Linked DNA regions of Homo sapiens: all the other regions are linked to region 1. The links are contacts of gene promoters, found by promoter capture Hi-C in blood cells and fetal thymus (Javierre and others, 2016). All regions are on one chromosome and are shown on one strand. The core of a region is centred on a gene start or on the middle of the fragment in contact, and the rest is flanking DNA. Distances in the headings are between cores, read along the strand shown. Region 1 holds the start of DIO3OS (DIO3 opposite strand upstream RNA). Region 2 has its middle 10 kb from the start of LINC00523. Region 3 overlaps LINC00523 (long intergenic non-protein coding RNA 523). Region 4 has its middle 27 kb from the start of DLK1. Region 5 has its middle 4.7 kb from the start of DLK1. Region 6 has its middle 28 kb from the start of DLK1. Region 7 has its middle 26 kb from the start of MIR2392.

Region 1 (2,711 bases), core at 64-2,563:
ACACCTCCCAGAAATCAGGGAATCAGAGCTTGAGAGATTGTCCAGTAAAAGTTGGAACCCTCAACACCCCTTGACTCTGCCCAGGAGGAGCAACCTCAGAAGCCCCCCCAAACCTCCTCTCAGAGACCTGCCGAGTAGGAGGCTTCTCTCTCTACTCTCCTCCCCGCAAAAAAGAGGCCAGAAAAGAGGATGATTGGCTAACTCAGAGGTGCCCTGATGGAGGGGAGCAAACAAGGGGACTTCCAAGGAGAATTCCCTAGCCCACCTGAAAGACCCCTACCCAGAGTGGTGAGGGGCAGCTTAGGAGCACTGACGCAAGGGGGAGAGACCAGGCTGGCTTCCCTCTACGTAGTAAGTTCCTGGGGTGTGCGCCCCTGCCCCAGACAGCAGAGAAATCGCCTGACTGGGAGATGGAGAAGAGGGGCCACCTTCTCATGCCACCCCGCCGCCAATCCTCCAGGCACACTCGGGCGCTTGACCTGCTGAAGCCTGTAGCCTCAGGTCCAGTGAGGAGCTCACGGGACAGAGGGCCCTACCAGAGCCACGAAAACCGGAGGGGGGGACCTCCGCCCAAGGCAGGCGTCTCTGCGCGCCCGCTGGGGCCCTGGTCCTGCAGTTGGCTTCTCCCGACACGTTCCTTCGCTGCCGAAAGCGATTCGCCCGCGCTCTACCGAGCCCAGCCAGCTCCTACCTCGGCCCGGGCGGCGAGCGCTGTCTCCGTCCCGAGAAGAAGTTTCGCGGCTGGTCCCGGGGCGGCAGGCGCACGGGACGCTGGCGGCGGCGGCGGCTTCCGACTTGGGCTCAGACCCCGCCGCTCCAGACAAGTCCCCGCGACTGCGACAGTGTCTCGGGCAGTTCAGCTCCCCAGACGGGAGACAGACCCTCGCGACCTGGTTCAGGCCTTGCCCTGGGGGACACTGCAGTCCAAGGCGAAAGGAGACTTGCTCCCGGCCTCTGGGTCCCTAGGTCAAGGCACCTCCCCGCCCCGCCGCCCCTGAGCCCAAGTCGCCAACCCCGCGCCGCGCGCAGCGAGGGATCAGAAGGTCTCGGACGCCGCGGCAGGGCCGGCCAGGGCCCCACGAGTTAGGGAGTTGCCCCGCACCCCTAAACGCTCAGCACCCATTTACGGTTGAAAGTACGCACTTGACGCGTCCGGGCGCCTCCGCGGTGAGTCGCGCCGCCGCTCTCGGGGTCCGCGAAGGTGGCTCAGTTCGGGCGCTCCAGTCTCGACGTTCCCGGGGTAGAGAGCAACGTCCGGGGACGAACGGGACGGGTGCGCCCAGCGGCCGGGGCTGCGCTGGGCGAGGCAAGCGGCGAGAGGGGAGCGCTCCGGCGTTCAGGCAACAGCTACCCCTAGTGGGAGAGCCGCCCGGGGCCGGCGCCGCCCCGCGCCCGCTGCCCCGCGCCCCACGCCCGTGGCGCCCCGCGCCCGGGTCGGCTGGGGGCGCAGGGCCGGCGCCGCTTTCCCCAGCTCTCCGGTCTCCGGCGCCCGGCGGTAACCCGCCCGCGGGCTCTGCCCTCCGCACCTCTCAGCCCGGCCCCGGCGGCCGCTGACCCAGGAACCGCGGCGCCCCGCTGGAACGAGATGGGACGGGGCGGGCGCGGCCAGGGCGGCGCGGGCTGGGGCGGCGCGCGGCAGCCTCGGGCAGCGGCGGGGGGCGCGGAGCGCGGTGTGCGTGGCGGGGCGGTGCGGGGGGCGGCCGTGTGCGAGGCGCGAGTGTGAGCGCGCGCGGGAGGCGGGCGGGCGGGCTCCGGCAGGCGAGCGGCGCCCGCGGGCGAGCCAGGAAGGCGGCGGGAACGCAAAGTTGCCTCCTCGCTGGCCCGCGTCCTCGGTGGGGCGGGAGCCGGGGCCACCGAAGCGGCGGCCGCGGACCCGGCCTCCCGCGGCACCTGGGCAGCGGCCCCGCACGAGCGGCAGCGGCGTGGGCGGCGTTGGCGGCGGCGCGCGGGAAGCGAACCGGAGCTCCGGCGCGGCTCGGCGGCCGCCGGGGAGCTCGGCTCAGGTGCGCGGCGAGGGGGGCGCGGGCCGGAGCCAGGCGGCGGGGACCAGGGCGGCGCGCAGCGCTCGCGCCAGCTGGAGGACCTCCCCAGCGGACGCCCAGGTCCCTGGTCGGGCTCCCGGTCCCCAGCGGCAGCGGCTGCCGGAGTCCCCCGCCCCCGAGAGCTGGCTGCGGGGCCCGGGCCCGCCCCCACCGGCCCCAGGCCCGGCCGCTCCGCCCTCCGCCCGCCTGCGCCCGCCCTCAGCCCAAGATTTCTAGGGCATTGGCCGCGCTGCTGGGTGATCCCTCCGGGCTCAAGTTGCAAGGGGGCGGGCCGGGCCGGAGGTGGAGTCTCCCGCCAATTGAAGCCTCCGCTATAAATTGAACTCCCTGCACTGCTGAAGCCCAGATGCCTCGCCAGGCCACGTCGCGGTTGGTGGTCGGAGAGGGCGAGGGGTCCCAGGGGGCTTCGGGGCCTGCAGCCACCATGCTCCGCTCCCTGCTGCTTCACTCCTTGAGGCTCTGCGCCCAGACCGCCTCGTGCCTCGTGCTCTTCCCGCGCTTCCTCGGCACGGCCTTCATGCTCTGGCTTCTCGATTTCTTGTGTATCCGCAAGCATTTCCTGGGCCGCCGCCGCCGGGGGCAGCCCGAGCCCGAAGTGGAGCTCAACAGTGAAGGCGAGGAGGTGCCTCCCGATGACCCGCCCATCTGCGTGTCCGACGACAACCGCCT
Region 2 (2,711 bases), core at 140-2,639, 910 kb before region 1:
TGCAGGAGTCTGCCCAGCCACCGCCCAGTACCAGGAGGGAAAATCCCTGCCTCCTGTCCTGTCTCTCCAGCGCCCTCTGCTGACAAAGCTTAATGTGGTGTCGACAGGCAAAGAAAATCACAAAGGCACCAGCTCATTTTTTAATACAACAGCCAATGCAGGGCAGATTCGGAGCTGGGAGACAATAAATTGATAACTGGCACGGTCCACCCCTTTGGCTACTCACCTTCCATGTGTACTACACACATTTGGACTCCTGTACAGCAGCAAAACATCTTTATATCTCCACCTAACAAGATGCAGCTACAGATCTTACCCATGACAGTTTCTGCCCTCTCTCTGAAACGAGGAGACATGCAGTCCAGCAGCCAGTGTTTCTGTCACTGACTATGTGAATTACTCCTCAAATTCATTTGCATTTCCACTAAATATTTTATTACCTACACACTAAACTGTGAAGTTAACTTCCAACAGTTTGGATATAAAATAAAAATGGAAAGGAGGGGAAGAAAATAATTAGTCTAGGCTGGGTGTGGTGGCTCACGCCTGTAATCCCAGCACTTTGGGAGGCTGGACCAGGTGGATCACTTGAGCCCAGGAGTTCAAGCCCAGCCTGGGCAACATAAGAAGACCCCACCTCTACATAAAGTTTAAAAAATTAGCCAGGCATGGTGGGTACTTGCCTGTGGTCCCAGCTACTTGGGAGGCTGAGGTGGGAGGATCACTTGAGCCTGGGAGGTTGAGGCTGTAGTGAGCGGTAATCACGCCACTGCACTCCAGCCTGGGCAACAAAGTGAGGCCCTGTTTCAAAAAAAATGATTAGCCTCTACAGATAAGTATGTACATAAAACAAACAAGTAGAAAATAGCTACTATGGGACTCATTTCTGTAAGGTAGTTGTGAGGTTAGAATTGATATCAATGGCTTCCTTCTTCAACTACCCATTCTACACTTCCCCTGTCCTTAGCCAGAACCTCAGCTGGCCTCTAACTAGTGGAGTGAGCCTAGTCTCCCTTCATGAAGGCTGTGAGTCCTCTGTCACCATGCACGTTTTTGGTTGCTGTACTTTTCCATTAACCATTTGCTAGGATCTGAATGTTTGCAAAATCCATACTTTAAAATCCAAAACCCCTACTAGGTGATGGTATTAGGAGGTGGGGCCTTTGAGAGGTGAGCGCTCCTCACGGGTATTAGTGCCCTTACAAATGAAATCCGGAGAGCTAGTTTCCCACTCCCACCACGTGAGGATACAGCAAGAAGATGTTGTCTAGGAGGAATCAGATCTTTACCAAACACCAAATCTGCCAGTCCCTTGATCTTGTACTTATCAGCCTCTAGAGCAATGGGAAATACATTTCTGTTATTTATAAGACACTTAGTTTATGGTATTTTGTTATAGCAGCCAAGATGGGCTAAGACAGAAAATTGTTATGGAGAAGTAGAGGTGCTGCTGTAACACATACCTAAAAATGTGGAAGTGGCTTTGAAACTGGGTAATGGGTACAGACTGCCAAGAGTTTTGAGGTGCATTCTAGGAAAAACCTGCATTGCTGTGAGTGGATCATAAGGTGAATTCTAGTGAGGGCCCAGACGGGGAGGAGCAGAGCTGCAGAAAAAGCCTCCAGCTTCTTAGAGAATACCTAAGCAGTCATTAACAGAAGGTTGGTAGAAATATGGATGGCACAGGCCATTCCGATGAACTCAGACAGAAGGTGAAATGTATCATTGGACAAGGAAGGAAAGGCCACCCTTGTTACAAAGTACAAAGAACTTGGCTGAATTGTGTTCATGTTCTAGTGTTTTGCGGAAGGTAGAGCCTGTGAGCAATGAAATTGGATATTTGATAGAGGAAATTTCTAAGCAAAGTGTTGAAGGTGTAGCCTGGTGTCTCTTGACTGCTTATAGTAAAAAGTGAGAAAACAGAAATGATTCAAAGACAGAATTGTCAATCAAAAGAGAAGCAGAACTTAAACAGTTGGAAAATTTTCAGCCTATCCATATTGGAAAAAATGACAAAACATATTGGAGAGAGAACAAGGATGTGGCTAAATGACTGATAAATAGATAAGTATGGGCTGGGCACGGTGGCTCATACCTGTAATCCCAGCACTTTGGGAGGCCAAGGCAGGTGGATCACCTGAGGTCAGGAGTTCGAGATCAGCCCAGCCAACATGGCGAAATCCTGTCTCTACTAAAAATACAAAAATTTGCCAGACGTAGTGGCACATGCCTGTAGTCCCAGCTACTCAGGAGGCTGAGGCAGGAGAATCACTTGAACCCAGGAGGCAGAGGTTGCAGTGAGCCAAGATTGTACCATTGCACCCCAGCCTTGGTGACAGGAGAGAAACTCCATCTCAAAAAAAAAAAAAAAAAAAAAAAAAAAAAAAAAAAAAGAGATAAGTATGGGTTGGCCATCTCAACAGAAGCCAGGATCTATTCATTAAGACAACAGGAGAGATTAGTCAACCATCTAAACCAGGGGTGTCCAATCTTTTGGTTTCCCTGAGCCACATTGGAAGAAGAACTGTTTTGGGCCACACATAAAATGCACTAACACTAACCATTGCTGATGTACTAAAAAAAATTGCAAAAAAAAAAAAAATCTCATAATGTCTTAGGAAAGTTTATGAATTTGTGTTGGGCTTCAAAGCTGTCCTGGGCCACATGAGGCCCATGGGCCATGGGTTGGACAAGCTTGATCTGAACAGAAG
Region 3 (2,711 bases), core at 54-2,553, 890 kb before region 1:
TGCGCCTTCTTGGCGATCTCTCTGCCCCATCCAAGGCTGAGTGAGGCCTCCTGCTTGCTGGCTTCCTGCAGTGCCCCTCTGCCGGCCCCTTCTGTCAAGGCCAAGGACCGACTCAGCCCTCAGCAAGCTAGCACAATAGCCCTCCCCATCTCTGGCTCCAAGTGGGCTCTCACCTATCAGACAGCTGATGATGCTGAGACACTCTGCTGGTTCCATGGTTTTTTTGTTTTAGTTTTTTTGAGACAGAGCCTTGCTCTGTCACCCAGGCTGGAGTGCAGTGGCTTGATCTCGGCTCACTGCAACCTCCACCTCCCTTGTTCAAGCGATTCTCCTGCCTCAGCCTCCTGAGTAGCTGGGATTACAGGTGTGTGCCACTATGCCCGGCTAATTTTTTTGTGTTTTTAGTAGAGACAGGGTTTCACCATACTGGCCAGGCTGGTCTCGAACTCCTGACCTTGTGATCCACCAGCCTCGGCCTCCCAAAGTGCTGGGGTTACAGGCATGAGCCACCGCACCTGGCCCTGGTCCCATGTTTTTTAATAACCACCCCCCTCGGCCACTGTAGACAAGGACGTTCTCTTCCCGGCCTCCAGTTAGGACACTGGCTCTCCTCCAGCTCAGCATGCAGAGGCCTCCCATGGCCTGTGCCAGTTAGCACCTCTCCCAAGACACCTGGGGCCCCCTTCTGGGGAGGAATTTACAATCAAGCAACATCTGGCAGAGAGTGAACTGTAAATGGTGAACACGCTGGCGAGGCAGCGACTCCAATTAGGAAACAACTAGATTTCTCTAAGTATGATGGGAAAGTAATTCTCTGGCCAACAGAGTTTAATCAGAATGTTTTATGCAAGACGTATCCCTGACCCTGACAAATCTTCCCCTTCTTGCTGGAAATTAAACAAATACATTGTCAGCGCGGATTCCGATGAGCGCATAAACAGATGTGGGCTGGTACAATCATGAAATTGAGGAGTTTCAATGACTGAGACGAGCAAGAAACAGGCTGGAAGCTCTGCTGTGTCCTCTAGGCTTTTAGCCATTCCTGCTGTGTGCTGGGGGCCCCAGGAAAACAAAGACTTTCTGCCTTGTCTGTGGCGTCTCTCCATACCCCACCCCCAAAGAGACATCCTTTTCCTCCTTGTGACCCTGTAGTCTAAATGGCATCCTGAATTCCCTTCGGTTCCAGCTCCTGCCACCCTGCCCTGGGAGCATTTGCCCCAGCATCTGTCTCCCCTGGCAGGCCGTTCTGATGTGTCTTCACAGCCCTGGCATCCGGGACAATGCCTGGCACACAGCAGACCTTGAACAACTGTTTGCAAGAGGAAGAGAGGGAGGGCGGGAGGGCGAAGTCCGGGGACTCTGCCTTCCAGGAGGTTCCGTGATCAAAAGCTGACTTGCTTCTGAGTCTGTGGAGCTGAGCTGCAACTCAGCCAGGCTGCAACTCTGTGTGAGGCACTGTTTACTGACCAGGAAAGTGGGCAGAATGGCAGGTGGTTGCTGTGAGAATTACTTAAGGCAGTTGACTCATCTGGCACAGAAGAGGCATGAGCTGGTGGTGGTGGCAGTCGGTGGCTCACACTCCATGGGAAGCAACACTCACTGTGCCGAGTGCCTTGGTGGCAGTGTCGGGGCAAAGACAGAAGGAAGGCGGGAGAAAGACCAATGGTTCCATCCCAGAGGAGGGTGCTACTGGGCTGGCTCTTGAAGTCCCAGAGAGGTGACTCACCTAAAATCTCTCAGAGGGGGACGTTCTCGGGGCAGCCTGGCTTCCCCAGCGCCTTCGGAACCTAACACCTGGGCTTTCCCCCTTGCGCTTTCCCAGGCGCTTTTGGTAGCGTGTAGGCTCATGGACCCTTACCCAGGTCTTCTCATTGACTGTGGAAAATCACCTGGAAAACTTTAGAAGATTCTATTCCCCCAGACCAGCCTTGGAAGTTCTTGTTCAGGAACAGCAGGATGAACCCTGCCTCAGGGTTTGGGACAAACTGCCCAGGTGTGGACCATCCATTTAGCAAATGACTGTAAACGGTAGTGCTTTAGTGACTTGAGCACTCAATGGGATCCAGACAGACAGAGCAGGTGAGAGAGGACTGAGTGGGTCAGAGCCAGCCTGGCCGAGTCCCTGCTCTCCACTCTCCAGCCCTTCCCACTGTGTTCACCTGGGGGCAGGGATTTCCATTGCACAGGGAAGGAATGTGCTGTGCCCAGGGACACCTCCCCCATGGATCCCCATCCAAGGACTAGAATGCTGCCTGGCCCCTTGCTACAGCGATCCCGTGCTTTCCTTTCTCTTTGAGTTGGTACTGTTATCTCAACAGCCTTGGCTTTCTGGGTGAAGATCAGCAGCCATCCAGGCAGGCATTGCAGAGTGATAGATTCTAGGGTCAGACAGGCTGGTGCCCTCCTTATATTATTGACAAAGAAGAAAAAGAGCTCAGGGACAGAGTGGACCCCCTCATCATTCTGGCTTTGGAGATGTGAGACTGTGCTTCTCCTTCTCATGAGACACAGGGAAGAATTCAGGGGGATAAGTACAGACTATGCCAGTAGCTCAGACAGTCTTGGCCTGCATCTCCAGGCGTCCAGGGGGTTGTGAGGTGGGTGGAGCTGGTGAAAAGTGCTGAGGTCGCCCTCATGCCTCCCAAGCCTACCTCAGGCATCTTGGAGAGGGGCTGCAGAGAGCTGACGCCTCAGCGGAACACCCGCGGTAG
Region 4 (2,711 bases), core at 56-2,555, 860 kb before region 1:
ACCATTATCACAATCTAATTTTAGAACGTTTCCATCACCAAAAAGAAACCTTGCGCTCTGCTGATTTGTTTTTTTCATGTCTTCACTGCGGGGCCTCCCCTCCCCACTCTATGAACAGTAATGGATACCTGTGCACTGTGTCTCCTGCCAGGTTCTGATCCAGGGCTTTCTAAGCACGTATTCACTTACCATCCGGGCAGCCAGGTGGGGCAGGTCCTCCTATGATCCGAGGCCAAAAGTGTCGAAGTACCTGCTGTAGTGGGTGAATGGTGGCCCCAAAAAGCCACGTCCACCTCCTGATTCCCAGAATCTGTGGCTGTGACCTTATTTGGAAAGAGGGTTTTTGCAGATGAAATTAAGTGAAGGATCTCAAGCTGAGATCATCCCGGATTATCTGGGAGGGCCCTAAATACAGTGACAAGTGTGGAAATAAACAAGGGCCGCTCAAACGAGAGAAGCAGAGGCCATTTATCCAGAGCTTTCTGCAGACTGGGCTCAGCTACCACTACTTGTGTTGGGCAGAGACTCAAAGGTGGGAAGAGGAGCGGAGAAGCTTCGCAGGGAAAGCTGGAGCTGCTTTGGGTGTGCTCTGACCGGAGGCTGTTGGTGTGGGGGAGCCAGAGGTGCCTACCTAGCATCGGGGCATCACCTGGGATGGGCTAGGGTGCATATTTGGCTTTCTCTGGTTGGCCGTTAGTCAGAAGTGGGACAAAAATAGGAAGCTGTCAGTTAGGAGTCAAGTCCTGGCCATTTGGGGCCAATTGTCACAGAAGCCACGGTTTAGCTTCCTGCATTGTCACTAGAGATGGCTATCGGGCCTCCTGCAAGCCTGGCTCACTGCAGGCTGGCTTCCTCCACTGTTTATGGGGGATGTGGGGTCAGTTTCCTGGCAGGTTGTTGCAGGTGTGGGTCAGCGTTCTGTTTTCAGAACAGACCCCTGTGGGAGGGGCACTGAGCTTCCTGGTGGCCAGTGGGAAGAGGGGGTCATGGCAGAGTGAGATAGAAGCAGAGAGTGGGCTTGGGGTCTGTCTGGGAGCAGGCAAGAGCACTGTTGGGTAAGAACTACTTGAAAAGGGACAGCGGCCGGGCGCGGTGGCTCACGCCTGTAATCCCAGCACTTTGGGAGGCCGAGGAGGGTGGATCATGAGGTCAGGAGATCGAGACCATCCTGGCTACCAAGGTGAAACCCCGTCTCTACTAAAAATACAAAAAATTAGCCGGGCGCGGTGGCGGGTGCCTGTAGTCCCAGCTACTCGGGAGGCTGAGGCAGGAGAATGGCGTGAACCCGGGAAGCGGAGCTTGCAGTGAGCTGAGATTGCGCCACTGCAGTCCGCAGTCCGGCCTGGGCGACAGAGCGAGACTCCGTCTCAAAAAAAAAAAAAAAAAAAAAAGAAAAGGGACAGCAAACCTCAATGGTATGGCCACTGTCCCTTTGGATATTTAGTCCCTTGCAGGTGTCCTTTGACACACAGAGACGAGACGCAGGTTGTGTGGAGACAGAGGCAGGGGTTGGAAGGAGGCTGCCACAAGCCAACGAATACCTGGAGGACCAGAAGCTGCAAGAGGCCTGAGAGGACCCTCCCCTAGAGCCTCTGGAGAGAGCACGGCCCTGCCCACACCTGAGCTGTGGACTTGTGGCCTCCGGAACAATGAAAGAATAAATTTCTGTTGTTTTTAGCCACCAAGATGTGGAAATTTGTAATGGCAGCTGACAGAAGTTTGCCCAAGGTGACACCATTGGTGGATGGAAGGACTAGGATTGGAGCCCAGGCAAGGTTCTGGTAGGGAGTGGGAGCAGGGCTTGCCCATTCCACCACAGCAAGGCAGGTGGATGGGGGCTGCGGGAGGGCAAGAAGGGCTCTGTGGTTACCAGTTTGCAGCCCCAGGAGGATCCACGCTCCTAGTGAAAGCCAGGCCATGAGGCTCTGTGCTGGTTGGAAGTGGGAAAGCTCAGGTCTCATTCATTCATCCAATCATTCATTCATTCATTCCACCTTCACCCAGATCTGAAGATGGCCTTGGTGGCTTGTGACATAGTTCTGAGCAGTGCTCTGGACCAAGCTTGTTCTTCAGATCCATCCTTGGCCTCATGAGGGGCCGGGCAGGTCAATACCCTCTGCCTATACACCTGCAGGATCCCCTTGCAGGCTGTCAATCCCGAAGCCCCAGAACCGCGCAGATTTCCTTCTGTGTTAATACCTTAAAAATTGAAGAAAAATCCAGCTGTCACACAATGTCACTGTTGAAGGCCTTGATGTTATTCTTCCTTCACTCTGCTCCAGAATGGCTTTAAAGTGGCTTATCTAGTGACACCCACATAGCAAGTAGAGGGAGGCTGGGATGAGGGCAAACCGGGCAGGGGGAAGGGAGCTGGTGAGGCACACAGAGGCCAGCATGAAGCTGTGCAGACCCTGTGGGCAGGCCACAGGGAGGGGCACTGAGCTTCCTAGTGGCCAGCAGGAAGAGGGGGTCATGGTAGTGTGAGATAGAAGCAGAGCGTGGGCTAGGGCTCTGTCCGGGGCAGGTGAAAGCACTGTCGAGTAAGAACAACTTGAGAAGGGACAGCAAACACCAGGCTGAGCCCCTGTCTCTGCTGGGCTGGCCCTAGTCTGGCTGGGAGGTGGGAGGCATATGTTCTGATTTTGTTTTCTGGCATTTTCCCCTTTGAGAAGCTCTTGCTGTCTTGTTTGGGCACACAGTCCAGCCGACCA
Region 5 (2,711 bases), core at 159-2,658, 840 kb before region 1:
TGCCTGTGCCTCTGAAGGTCTCCACGAGCTGGGCCCTACTGGGGAGGTAGGTGGTGGGGGCTGGTGCCTCACTGGATGGGAAGGGTCGGGTGGCCCAGCCTGATTCCCAAGACTTAGCATCAAGTCTGGGCATGACATGTGCGAAGGTTGACTCTGGTATGACAAAAGAGGGCTTCTTGTTCCGTGGACTGTTTGCCAGGGCAAAGGAGGCTGCAGAATGTTGGAGAATAGTTAAGAGATTTATGTCCGAAATGTTGAAAGTTTTGCAACATTCTGCCTCATTCTTCACCATGCTAACTTTGCCCTCACTAACAGAACAGCCAACACTTCCTCGCCATCTCATGTGCATGCATACACACACTCATGTCTCGTTCACACATCTGTGCCTGTACAGCTCTCTCTGCCTGGAAGGGCCTCCCCATACCCTCCTGGAGAACTTCTGTGTACTCTGCACACACAGCTGAGGACTAACCCTCTGAGAGATGCATGATCGCCCTTCCCATGTGTGGCCAGTCCCAGTATCCACAACCCTGCATCTCAGAGGGTGTCTAAGCACTGGGTCCGCACTTGAACTCTCTGAGATGAGAAACCACCTTCAAATCCATCATTGCACCCTCCTTCCAGGGACCCCGCCGAGCCTCGGCACCCAGTAGGAGCTCAGTCAATACCAGGCAGATGAAAGGCTACATTTAAAGAGGTGAGCCTCTGTTTTATGGAAAATTAACTTCTGGGAATTTTTGATGAATGAATTCCTGCATTTTTGGCCAAAGCCTGCGTGGACAAGCTGAGTGATGAAAAGGCCCCTTTTTCCTCCGGCCCCTGATTTCCTCCCTCCTGAGTGGGAGTGAGTCTATCTACAAGCTCTGGGGTGGGGTGGGGAGTTGTTATTAACCCCTCCAAGCCCCTGGGAGCACCCCACGCACAGCATGACTCAGTGGTGCTCTGTAAGAGGATCATGTGATTGATGATGTGGACAATTACATTGTGGACTTACATCCCTGTTGATTCCAATGGCAAGGAAGGAAACGAGAAGTCTGTTTTTAAATCCTATCAGCAATGACGAGAAACTGGTTCTGTCTGGGGGAGAGGTGAGACCCCACAGAAGCCAACTCTAAATATAGACCCAAACCAATGAGTCCCCTCTGCACCCCAGCTCTCTGGTATTTTTCCTTCCCAGAAGCTTGCTGTGGGGCCTGGGGGAGTGATACGCAGGCCTGTTTTGGGGACTCGGGGATACGGGCTGGCTCTGCGCCCCCACCCACAGCACCCTGCCGCCCTGGAGAACCCTGGAGTGGGCCTGGAACTGTCATACGCCTCTTCAGGCGCCAAGCACAAGGCCAGGCTCAGCATGTGTCCCTCTGCAGCCGTACTCCCAGCTCGGCTGAGCACGATGCCACTTCACACTGAAGACCTTTTCTCTGATTAAACTTGAAACCAAACCTTCATGTTCTGGAAAATGTATCAGGTTATGTCTTTCATTTCCCTCCACCCTCTGCCCCCAGGTCCCCTCTCCTCGGTAGAAGAAAAGAGAATTTGTCTCCAAAGATGAGCTTCAGGTTTGGAAAAATACTCCGAGAGGTGGCAGCTGCGTGTCTCCTTGGTGTTTGCATGAAACCCTCACAGCCTCCCAGGTTGTGAAGCTTCCCCCTCCCACCCAAGGAGGGGAGGGCAGGCTTCTGGGGGAGCCCACTTTCCTCCAGGCTCCATGCACTCTAACCACCCCGCTGGGCTGGGCAGAGAGCCTTGCACTGGGATTTTGAGTAGACCCGGGTTCAAATTCCAGCTCTGCCACTGGTTAGCCATGCACCTCTCTTGGGGTCCCCCAGCCTCAGTGTGCTCAGCCACTGCCCAGTGGACTCTGGGCAGTCCCCACCTAGCCCAGGCCGTGAGGAGGCTCTGATGAGACAGGGTTAAATTAGAGTCTAAATCCGAGGGAGAAGTGAGGGAGATGCAGAAAGGGCAATGCCTGCTTGCCTGTAAGCCCTCAACACAGGGATGGTGGCTTCTTGGCGGGGGAGCCTCCTGCCCAGCTGTCTCCTGGATGTTCCGGTTCTAGGACTCTAACTAGGCCACCTGAGTCTCTGGGCACTGGTCCTCGCCTTGGTCAGTCCCTTGGGGAGGAAGAGCAGGCAGATCTGGGGGAGCCCACCCTCCTTCTCTCTTGGAGGGAGGATGGAGAACGTTGGGTGTGGGGACAGGGGACAAAGGCATCTCTTGTCTGTAGGATGCCCACTAGGACTGGATCAGTGGGGGCTCAGATCCCCCCACCCCGGCAAAAAAAAAAAACAAAAAAAACCAAAAAAAAAACCTAGTCTAGGCAGAAGCAAAGCCTCAAGGCATGGAGATCCCCACCGAGGCTGTGGGGGTGGTGAGCAGAGCAGAATGTGAAGGTGGGGTGAAGCCCCCTCGCCGGCCACCCCTGCTCTTGCCCTCCCATCCCCGCTGGTGCCCGGGACTAGTAAGTCTCAGAGGCCCCTCTAGCTCCACCCAGCTGAGCTGCCCTGATCAGTGTTTCTGCCTTTAATCAGGGGCGAAGTGGTCTGGGGCTGGCTGGAGGAAGAGTTAGTGTTTAGAAAAGGAGGAGGGGGAGCAGACAGGAGGGGAGAGCAGAGGAGCGGGGAGGAAAAAGGGCTGGAGACAACACTTCTTTCCTTCCCTCGGAAAACTTTTGCTCATCACCAGCTCCTCTGCTGCCCCGGCAAAGCCCAGCA
Region 6 (2,711 bases), core at 140-2,639, 810 kb before region 1:
AGAATGGTGACCCCTTTCCTTGCCTACTGGTCTCTTGATAGGAGGAGCCTGAAGTGACTGGCAGTAGTGGAGCTTAAAGTTAAATGGGGAGAAAGGTGGAAGGAGGACCACAGCAAATCCTGTCCCTATAAGAACAATGATAAAATTGGACAAAATTGCCAAAAACAACCATTTCGGAACTCTGGACATTAACCAAAGACAAATAACAAATGGAAAGACATTTATTTAATAAAAACAGCTGAGCCTTTGTTGACAGTGGCGGGGTCTGTGCCATTTCAACACAGGGCTGCTCCCACCCACCTCTCTCTGAACTCTGTGGTGTGGCAACCATAAACCCAGAAGTCTTGCTGCTGCTAGAGGGGGCTGATCTAATTTGGAGCTCCATAGAAAAGCACAATGTCCAGAAACACTGTCAAAACAGAGGCCATCTCTATAGCAGACAATCAAAGAAGGCCAATGTCACAGCTACCTAAGTCTGTGACACTGACTTGGGAAAGCAGCAACCAGCCAAAAATTTACAAGAAAGAGCTGGGAAATAAGACAACCATAGGGGCTTTGATAAACCTGACACATTTCTAAGAATCTGGAATGCTGTGCACTTGCCCAAGGTGTAGGAATGTGCAGGAGAGAGTGGAGAGGGCCCAGTTATCTGTTTGTTCCTGGCTGACCACGAGGCCCTGCACAAACAGCAAGTGAAGGTGGGCACACTTGTAAACTGCCTGCCCTCTGAGTGTGTGCCTCACCACACCAAAGGGCAGAAATCTTACTGGCTGAAGGTGTTTAAGCAAAACCTCTGACCAATCATTGGCTGCCTATTAAGGATGCTTACCCAGATTATGCTTAATCTATAGAAAAGGTTTAAAATGAAGGCAGGAATTAAGCAAACAAACAAATAAGATTTCCATGTTTGCACACTGGAGGGGAGACCGGCTCTAAATAATTTATCCAGGCAAGTCACTAAACACACAAATAAATGCAGCAATAGCCTCTAGGGGAGACAAATCAGAACTCAGATTTGTTATAATATTTATCCAAAGCTTCTAGTTTCCAAAAACATGGTGAAACATACAAATAAATAGAAAAATGTGGTCATACACAGAAAAGAAGCAGTGCATACAAGCTATCTCTGAGCAAGCTCAGATATTGGACTTGGTAGACAATGACTTAAAATAATTTACTATAAACATGTTCAAAGGTCTAAAGGAATCTATGTTTAAATAATTAAAGCAGCTGGGTGTGGTGGTACATGCCTGTAATCCTAGCTCCTCAGGAGGCTGAGGTGGGAGGATCACCTGAGGCCAGGAGTTTGAGACAAGGCTGGAGAACACAGCAAAACCCTATTTCAAAAAAAAAAACAAAAAACAGAAAACAAAGAAATAATGTAAAGTATGAGACAACAATGTCTAACCAACAGAGAAAGTCAACAAAAAGATACAAAGTATTAATGAGAACTATATAGAAACTTTGGAATTGAAAAGTATAATACCTGAAATGAAAATTTACTAGAGGTGCTCGACAGCAGGTTTGAGCTAGAGGAAGAAGGACTCAGCAAACTTGAAGACAAGCAATAGAAACCATTTAGTCTAAAGAACAGAAAGAAAAAAGAACAGAATAAAATGAACAGCACTTCTCAGAGACCTGTGGGACAACATCAAGTGAAAGGGGTAAAACCTTTTTTTTTCTTTTAAAGAATAGCTGAAAATGTCCCAAATTTGCTTAAAAATATTAGTATGTAAATACAATAAGCTTAACAAACTCCAAGTGGAATGTCTTAGTCTGTTTGGACTGCTTTAACAAAATTCCATCAACTAGGTGGCTTAGATACAACAGAAATTTATTTCTTACAGTTCCAGAGACTGGGAAGTCTAAGATCAAGGTGCCAGCAGATTCAGTGTCTTGTGAGGGCTGGCTTTCTGGTTCACAGATGGTGCCTTCTCACTGTGTCCTCACATGGCAGAAGGGGTGAAGAAGCTCTCTTGGGCCTATTTTATAAGGACACTGATCCCATTCACAAAGGCTCTGCCCTCATAGCTTAATCTACAAAAGGCCCACCTCCTACTACCATTGGGGTTAGGATTTCAGCATATGAATTTCAGCATATAAATTTTGTGACACAAACCTTCAGATCATAGCATAGAATAAACTCAAAGAAATCCACACCTAGACACACCATAGGCAAAGACTGTGACTATAACATATGTCATCAAAGACAAAGTCTTCAAGGGAACAACAGTAAAATGACTCATCATGTATAAGAGAACCACAATCAGATTACAGCTAATTTATCTTCAGAAACAATGGAAGCTGGAAGGCAGTAGGATATTCAAAGTGTTGAAAGAAGAAACCAATCAATCAAGAATTTATATCCATCAAAATTATCTTTCAAACCTGAAGGCAAAATAAGGACATCCCAAGATAAACAGACGGGAAGGATTCTTTGCTAGCAGACCTGCCTTACAAAAAATGCTAAAGGAAGTCCTTCAGGCTAAAGAAAATCACATCATACGATAACTTGAATCTCCATGAAGAAATAAAGAGCACTTGTGAAGGTAAATGTAAATGTTAGCATAAATATGTTTTTTTACTTGTTTATTCTCTTAATTGATGTAAAACATAACTGAATAAAGCAATAATTATAAAACTGTATTGTTAGGCTTGTAATATATCAAGATGCATTTTATAAGACAGTATTAGCACAAAGAAATGAGAAA
Region 7 (2,711 bases), core at 76-2,575, 770 kb before region 1:
CCCACTGGGGGTTTATGCATTTCTTAAAAGACCCCTTTCAAGTGAGGTAACTGTAAAGTGCCTGAGGTTTTGGGAGATGGGGACTCGTCAACAAAACCCCATTTCCAAGGGGAAATCTCCTAACTCTCCCGAAAAGAGACCAAAACTTTCCCCCACATTTCTTCCCCGTCCCTGAGGCATGACCTTCTGGGTGGCAGGATTGCAGGGTGTCCTAGCTTTTCCAAAACCTCTCTCTTTAGAAGCGTCTGGCTTTTGGAACCCAGAACCATCAAGGGAGACAGGAAGAATGTTTGCAATTCTTCAGTTGCCGGACCCCATCGCAAAGCTTCCCCCAGGCCCTAGGAGAGGGAGCTGGTATGGCCAGCCGCCTGCCGGGCCGGGCCCACCATCTTTGCTCTCTTGCCATTCTCAGAGCCTTTAAAACTACAGACTCTGCTTCAAGCAAAGAGTCACTGGGCCCCCGGCCCTGGACTACGCCATTCAGAAGTCAAAGGTCATTCTAACGCCTTTCCTGCAGTTTTGGGCTGGCTTAGCGGGGTGAAGATCCGGAGGCAGTGCCCCGCATGACAGCGGAGGGTTCAGCACCCCTCCCGCAGCCCTGCAAGCCCCAAGAATGCACCTCCTCCAGGACGCAGCACTTAGCTTCCATTTCCTAATGCAAGTCTCTGCCTCAGTTTCCCCATCTGCAAAGCAGAGCTGAGAACCTGTTTCACTCACCCCAACGCCTGCACGAGCTAGGCTCTGGGGCTGACTCTCGGTGTCTCCTTTTCTAATTGTTTGTCCCCACTGTGACTTGAATGAGAGCAGAGTGTGTCTCGGAGTCCTCTCATCCCAGCAACCCCAATACTTAATAGTGCCCTCAGCCCAGTCACTCTTTGTAAAGGAATAAACGGGTGAATCCCAGGACCTACTACCCACCTTATAGTCTTGAGTAACATCCAGTCTGTGCCTGACCCATGGAGAATACCCAGTAAATGGTCAGCCCCTAGAGCTATCCGCAAACACAAATCCTTCACGACTCTCACTGAATGGGGGTGCACGGGAGTTCCCCATTAATTGACATGGAAGAAACATTTTTTTACTAATTTTGCACAAAGTTGGGTGTGCATGGGAGGGGCACCCTCTCTCTCTCTCGGCCTTCACAGCACCCACCGCCCTGTGCAAGCTCAGTCTGGCCCAGGATCCAACCTTCTTATGTATTTATTTAAACCCTGCCTCATTCCGGAGAGAATTTAAGGCCTCACCATGAATACCATCTTTGTGTGGCCTTCCAGCGCCAAAGGCCAGGAAACCCAGGCCAGGCACGTCTGGAGGTGGGGCCCCCCTGTGGCCTCAAGGCCTGGGCCAATCCTGCCTGGCGGCCTGTCCCCATTTCCTGCCATCTGTGGGGAGAGGCCTCCCCAGCCGGCTACCTCCCGCTGTCCTCTGACTCTCCCCCTGCAGGGCCACCCAGACCTTGCTCTGAGGCTCTCCCGATCCTGGAACAAGCAGATCTTGCCAAGTTCCTGTATTGGAAGATAAATCATATTGAAATTCTCTTTAAAACCCATAGATGAAGCAGCACCTTGGTGTTCGTGTATTTGCGCACACAGAGCTGCCCTCCCGTGATGGTGCTGGGAGACCAGCAGCCTGCAAGAGAGAGGGTTTGGGGGAGGACTTCCTGTCCAGAGCTCCATGCATGTCTCAGGTCACTGGAGGGAGGGCATAGCCCCGTCCTCACCTAGCACAGGGCGGGGCAAGGCCGGGAATGTCTGTACTGTGGGTCTCTGCCTAAAATCTGTCCCTGGTTCCTGGAAGGCATCACTTGATCTGGGACGGCCACCCCTCCCAACTCATCAAGATGTTACATCACCCTAACCTCTTGGCTGCCCCCTGGAATCCAGAGGATGGCTTTGAAGTCTAAGGGATATCTGGGGCTGATGAATTCAGAGGCCTCTTAAGTAGGGCTTGGGGTGCACATCCAGGATTAGGCCATCTCCTCAAATTTAACGGCAGGTTTGAATGCAGATGTTTCTGTAGTGAGGTTGAGCATAGCTCCAGAAAGCTGTGGCCACGGAGGACTTCTGCAGGGTGGTGTCAGGAGCCTGAGTGGCCTGTACTCAGGGGAGGCCCTCATCCCAGATGGATGAAGGGGCCGTGAGCTCAGGAAAGACTGAGTGGCCTTCCCTTCCGTGCGTGGTCTCAAATCCCTGAAATGCTTTGACTCCCAGGCCTGCAGCCCTCCAGGAGAATTGTTCAGACTTCAAAGACTTGTTTCAAATGGAAAGAAAACCTCCGCAGACCATGGGGCTCAGGAAACTTCTCCTAAAGATCTCTTGCACCCCTGAAGCTTCTGATTGAAGAATGGGAAGAAGTCTGCAAAAACCAGAGTTGCTGTTGAGCCTGGTGCTGGTCAGTTATTAATAAAAAGACCAATAAATGTAGGTCCCACATGGAGGCAAAGCTGAAACCAGACTGCAGGCACTTAAACATTCCGGTCTGCACAGGCTCTGTCCTCCTCCCAGTGGCGCCTGCTCCACTTGTGGCTGGGGGACATTTGGGTGGTCCTACCACCTGTTGGAAGTGCTCAGATGCCTGGAACCAAACCAGGTCCTGAACATAGGTTGGGACGTGGCACTTCATGTTGGTGCCACCCTTGACTGTCTGCTAGGGAGGTAGCCTGGGCATAGGATTTGAAAGGTGAACATTTCTGAACCTCCCAAAAAGATATG

What was found. Contacts are between HindIII fragments. The CHiCAGO score rates a contact against its expected background, and 5 or more counts as called.
Region 2: a contact is called between a fragment that was not itself captured here and the fragment with the promoter of DIO3OS in region 1, in 1 of 17 cell types (endothelial precursors). The highest score is 5.2, in endothelial precursors.
Region 3: a contact is called between a fragment that was not itself captured here and the fragment with the promoter of DIO3OS in region 1, in 1 of 17 cell types (M1 macrophages). The highest score is 5.1, in M1 macrophages.
Region 4: a contact is called between a fragment that was not itself captured here and the fragment with the promoter of DIO3OS in region 1, in 2 of 17 cell types (M1 macrophages and naive B cells). The highest score is 6.6, in M1 macrophages.
Region 5: a contact is called between a fragment that was not itself captured here and the fragment with the promoter of DIO3OS in region 1, in 2 of 17 cell types (naive CD4 T cells and M1 macrophages). The highest score is 6.0, in naive CD4 T cells.
Region 6: a contact is called between a fragment that was not itself captured here and the fragment with the promoter of DIO3OS in region 1, in 8 of 17 cell types (M1 macrophages, M2 macrophages, naive CD8 T cells and 5 more). The highest score is 8.6, in M1 macrophages.
Region 7: a contact is called between a fragment that was not itself captured here and the fragment with the promoter of DIO3OS in region 1, in 1 of 17 cell types (M1 macrophages). The highest score is 5.2, in M1 macrophages.

What each region holds. Positions count from the first base shown.
Region 1 is chr14:101,559,109-101,561,819 of GRCh38, forward strand. It overlaps DIO3OS (DIO3 opposite strand upstream RNA), which reads right to left and starts at 1,314. Exons shown (of 2, transcript NR_152588.1): 1 at 1,144-1,314. It overlaps DIO3 (iodothyronine deiodinase 3), which reads left to right and starts at 2,387. Exons shown (of 1, transcript NM_001362.4): 1 at 2,387-2,711. The coding sequence starts at 2,389. It overlaps MIR1247 (microRNA 1247), which reads right to left and starts at 1,314; the gene lies at 1,179-1,314. The HindIII fragment of the contact is 17,616 bases long and covers 1-2,711 here.
Region 2 is chr14:100,645,839-100,648,549 of GRCh38, forward strand. No RefSeq gene overlaps it. Among named protein-coding and RNA genes, the nearest start is that of LINC00523, 10 kb to the right of the region's middle. The HindIII fragment of the contact is 2,606 bases long and covers 87-2,692 here.
Region 3 is chr14:100,664,363-100,667,073 of GRCh38, forward strand. The region is part of intron 1 of LINC00523 (long intergenic non-protein coding RNA 523); the gene reads left to right. Among named protein-coding and RNA genes, the nearest start is that of LINC00523, 8.4 kb to the left of the region's middle. RefSeq lists an enhancer at 2,236-2,711. The HindIII fragment of the contact is 5,308 bases long and covers 1-2,711 here.
Region 4 is chr14:100,698,496-100,701,206 of GRCh38, forward strand. No RefSeq gene overlaps it. Among named protein-coding and RNA genes, the nearest start is that of DLK1, 27 kb to the right of the region's middle. The HindIII fragment of the contact is 1,508 bases long and covers 552-2,059 here.
Region 5 is chr14:100,720,841-100,723,551 of GRCh38, forward strand. No RefSeq gene overlaps it. Among named protein-coding and RNA genes, the nearest start is that of DLK1, 4.7 kb to the right of the region's middle. The HindIII fragment of the contact is 460 bases long and covers 1,179-1,638 here.
Region 6 is chr14:100,753,573-100,756,283 of GRCh38, forward strand. No RefSeq gene overlaps it. Among named protein-coding and RNA genes, the nearest start is that of DLK1, 28 kb to the left of the region's middle. RefSeq lists an enhancer at 1,564-2,711. The HindIII fragment of the contact is 709 bases long and covers 1,036-1,744 here.
Region 7 is chr14:100,787,352-100,790,062 of GRCh38, forward strand. No RefSeq gene overlaps it. Among named protein-coding and RNA genes, the nearest start is that of MIR2392, 26 kb to the right of the region's middle. The HindIII fragment of the contact is 2,004 bases long and covers 324-2,327 here.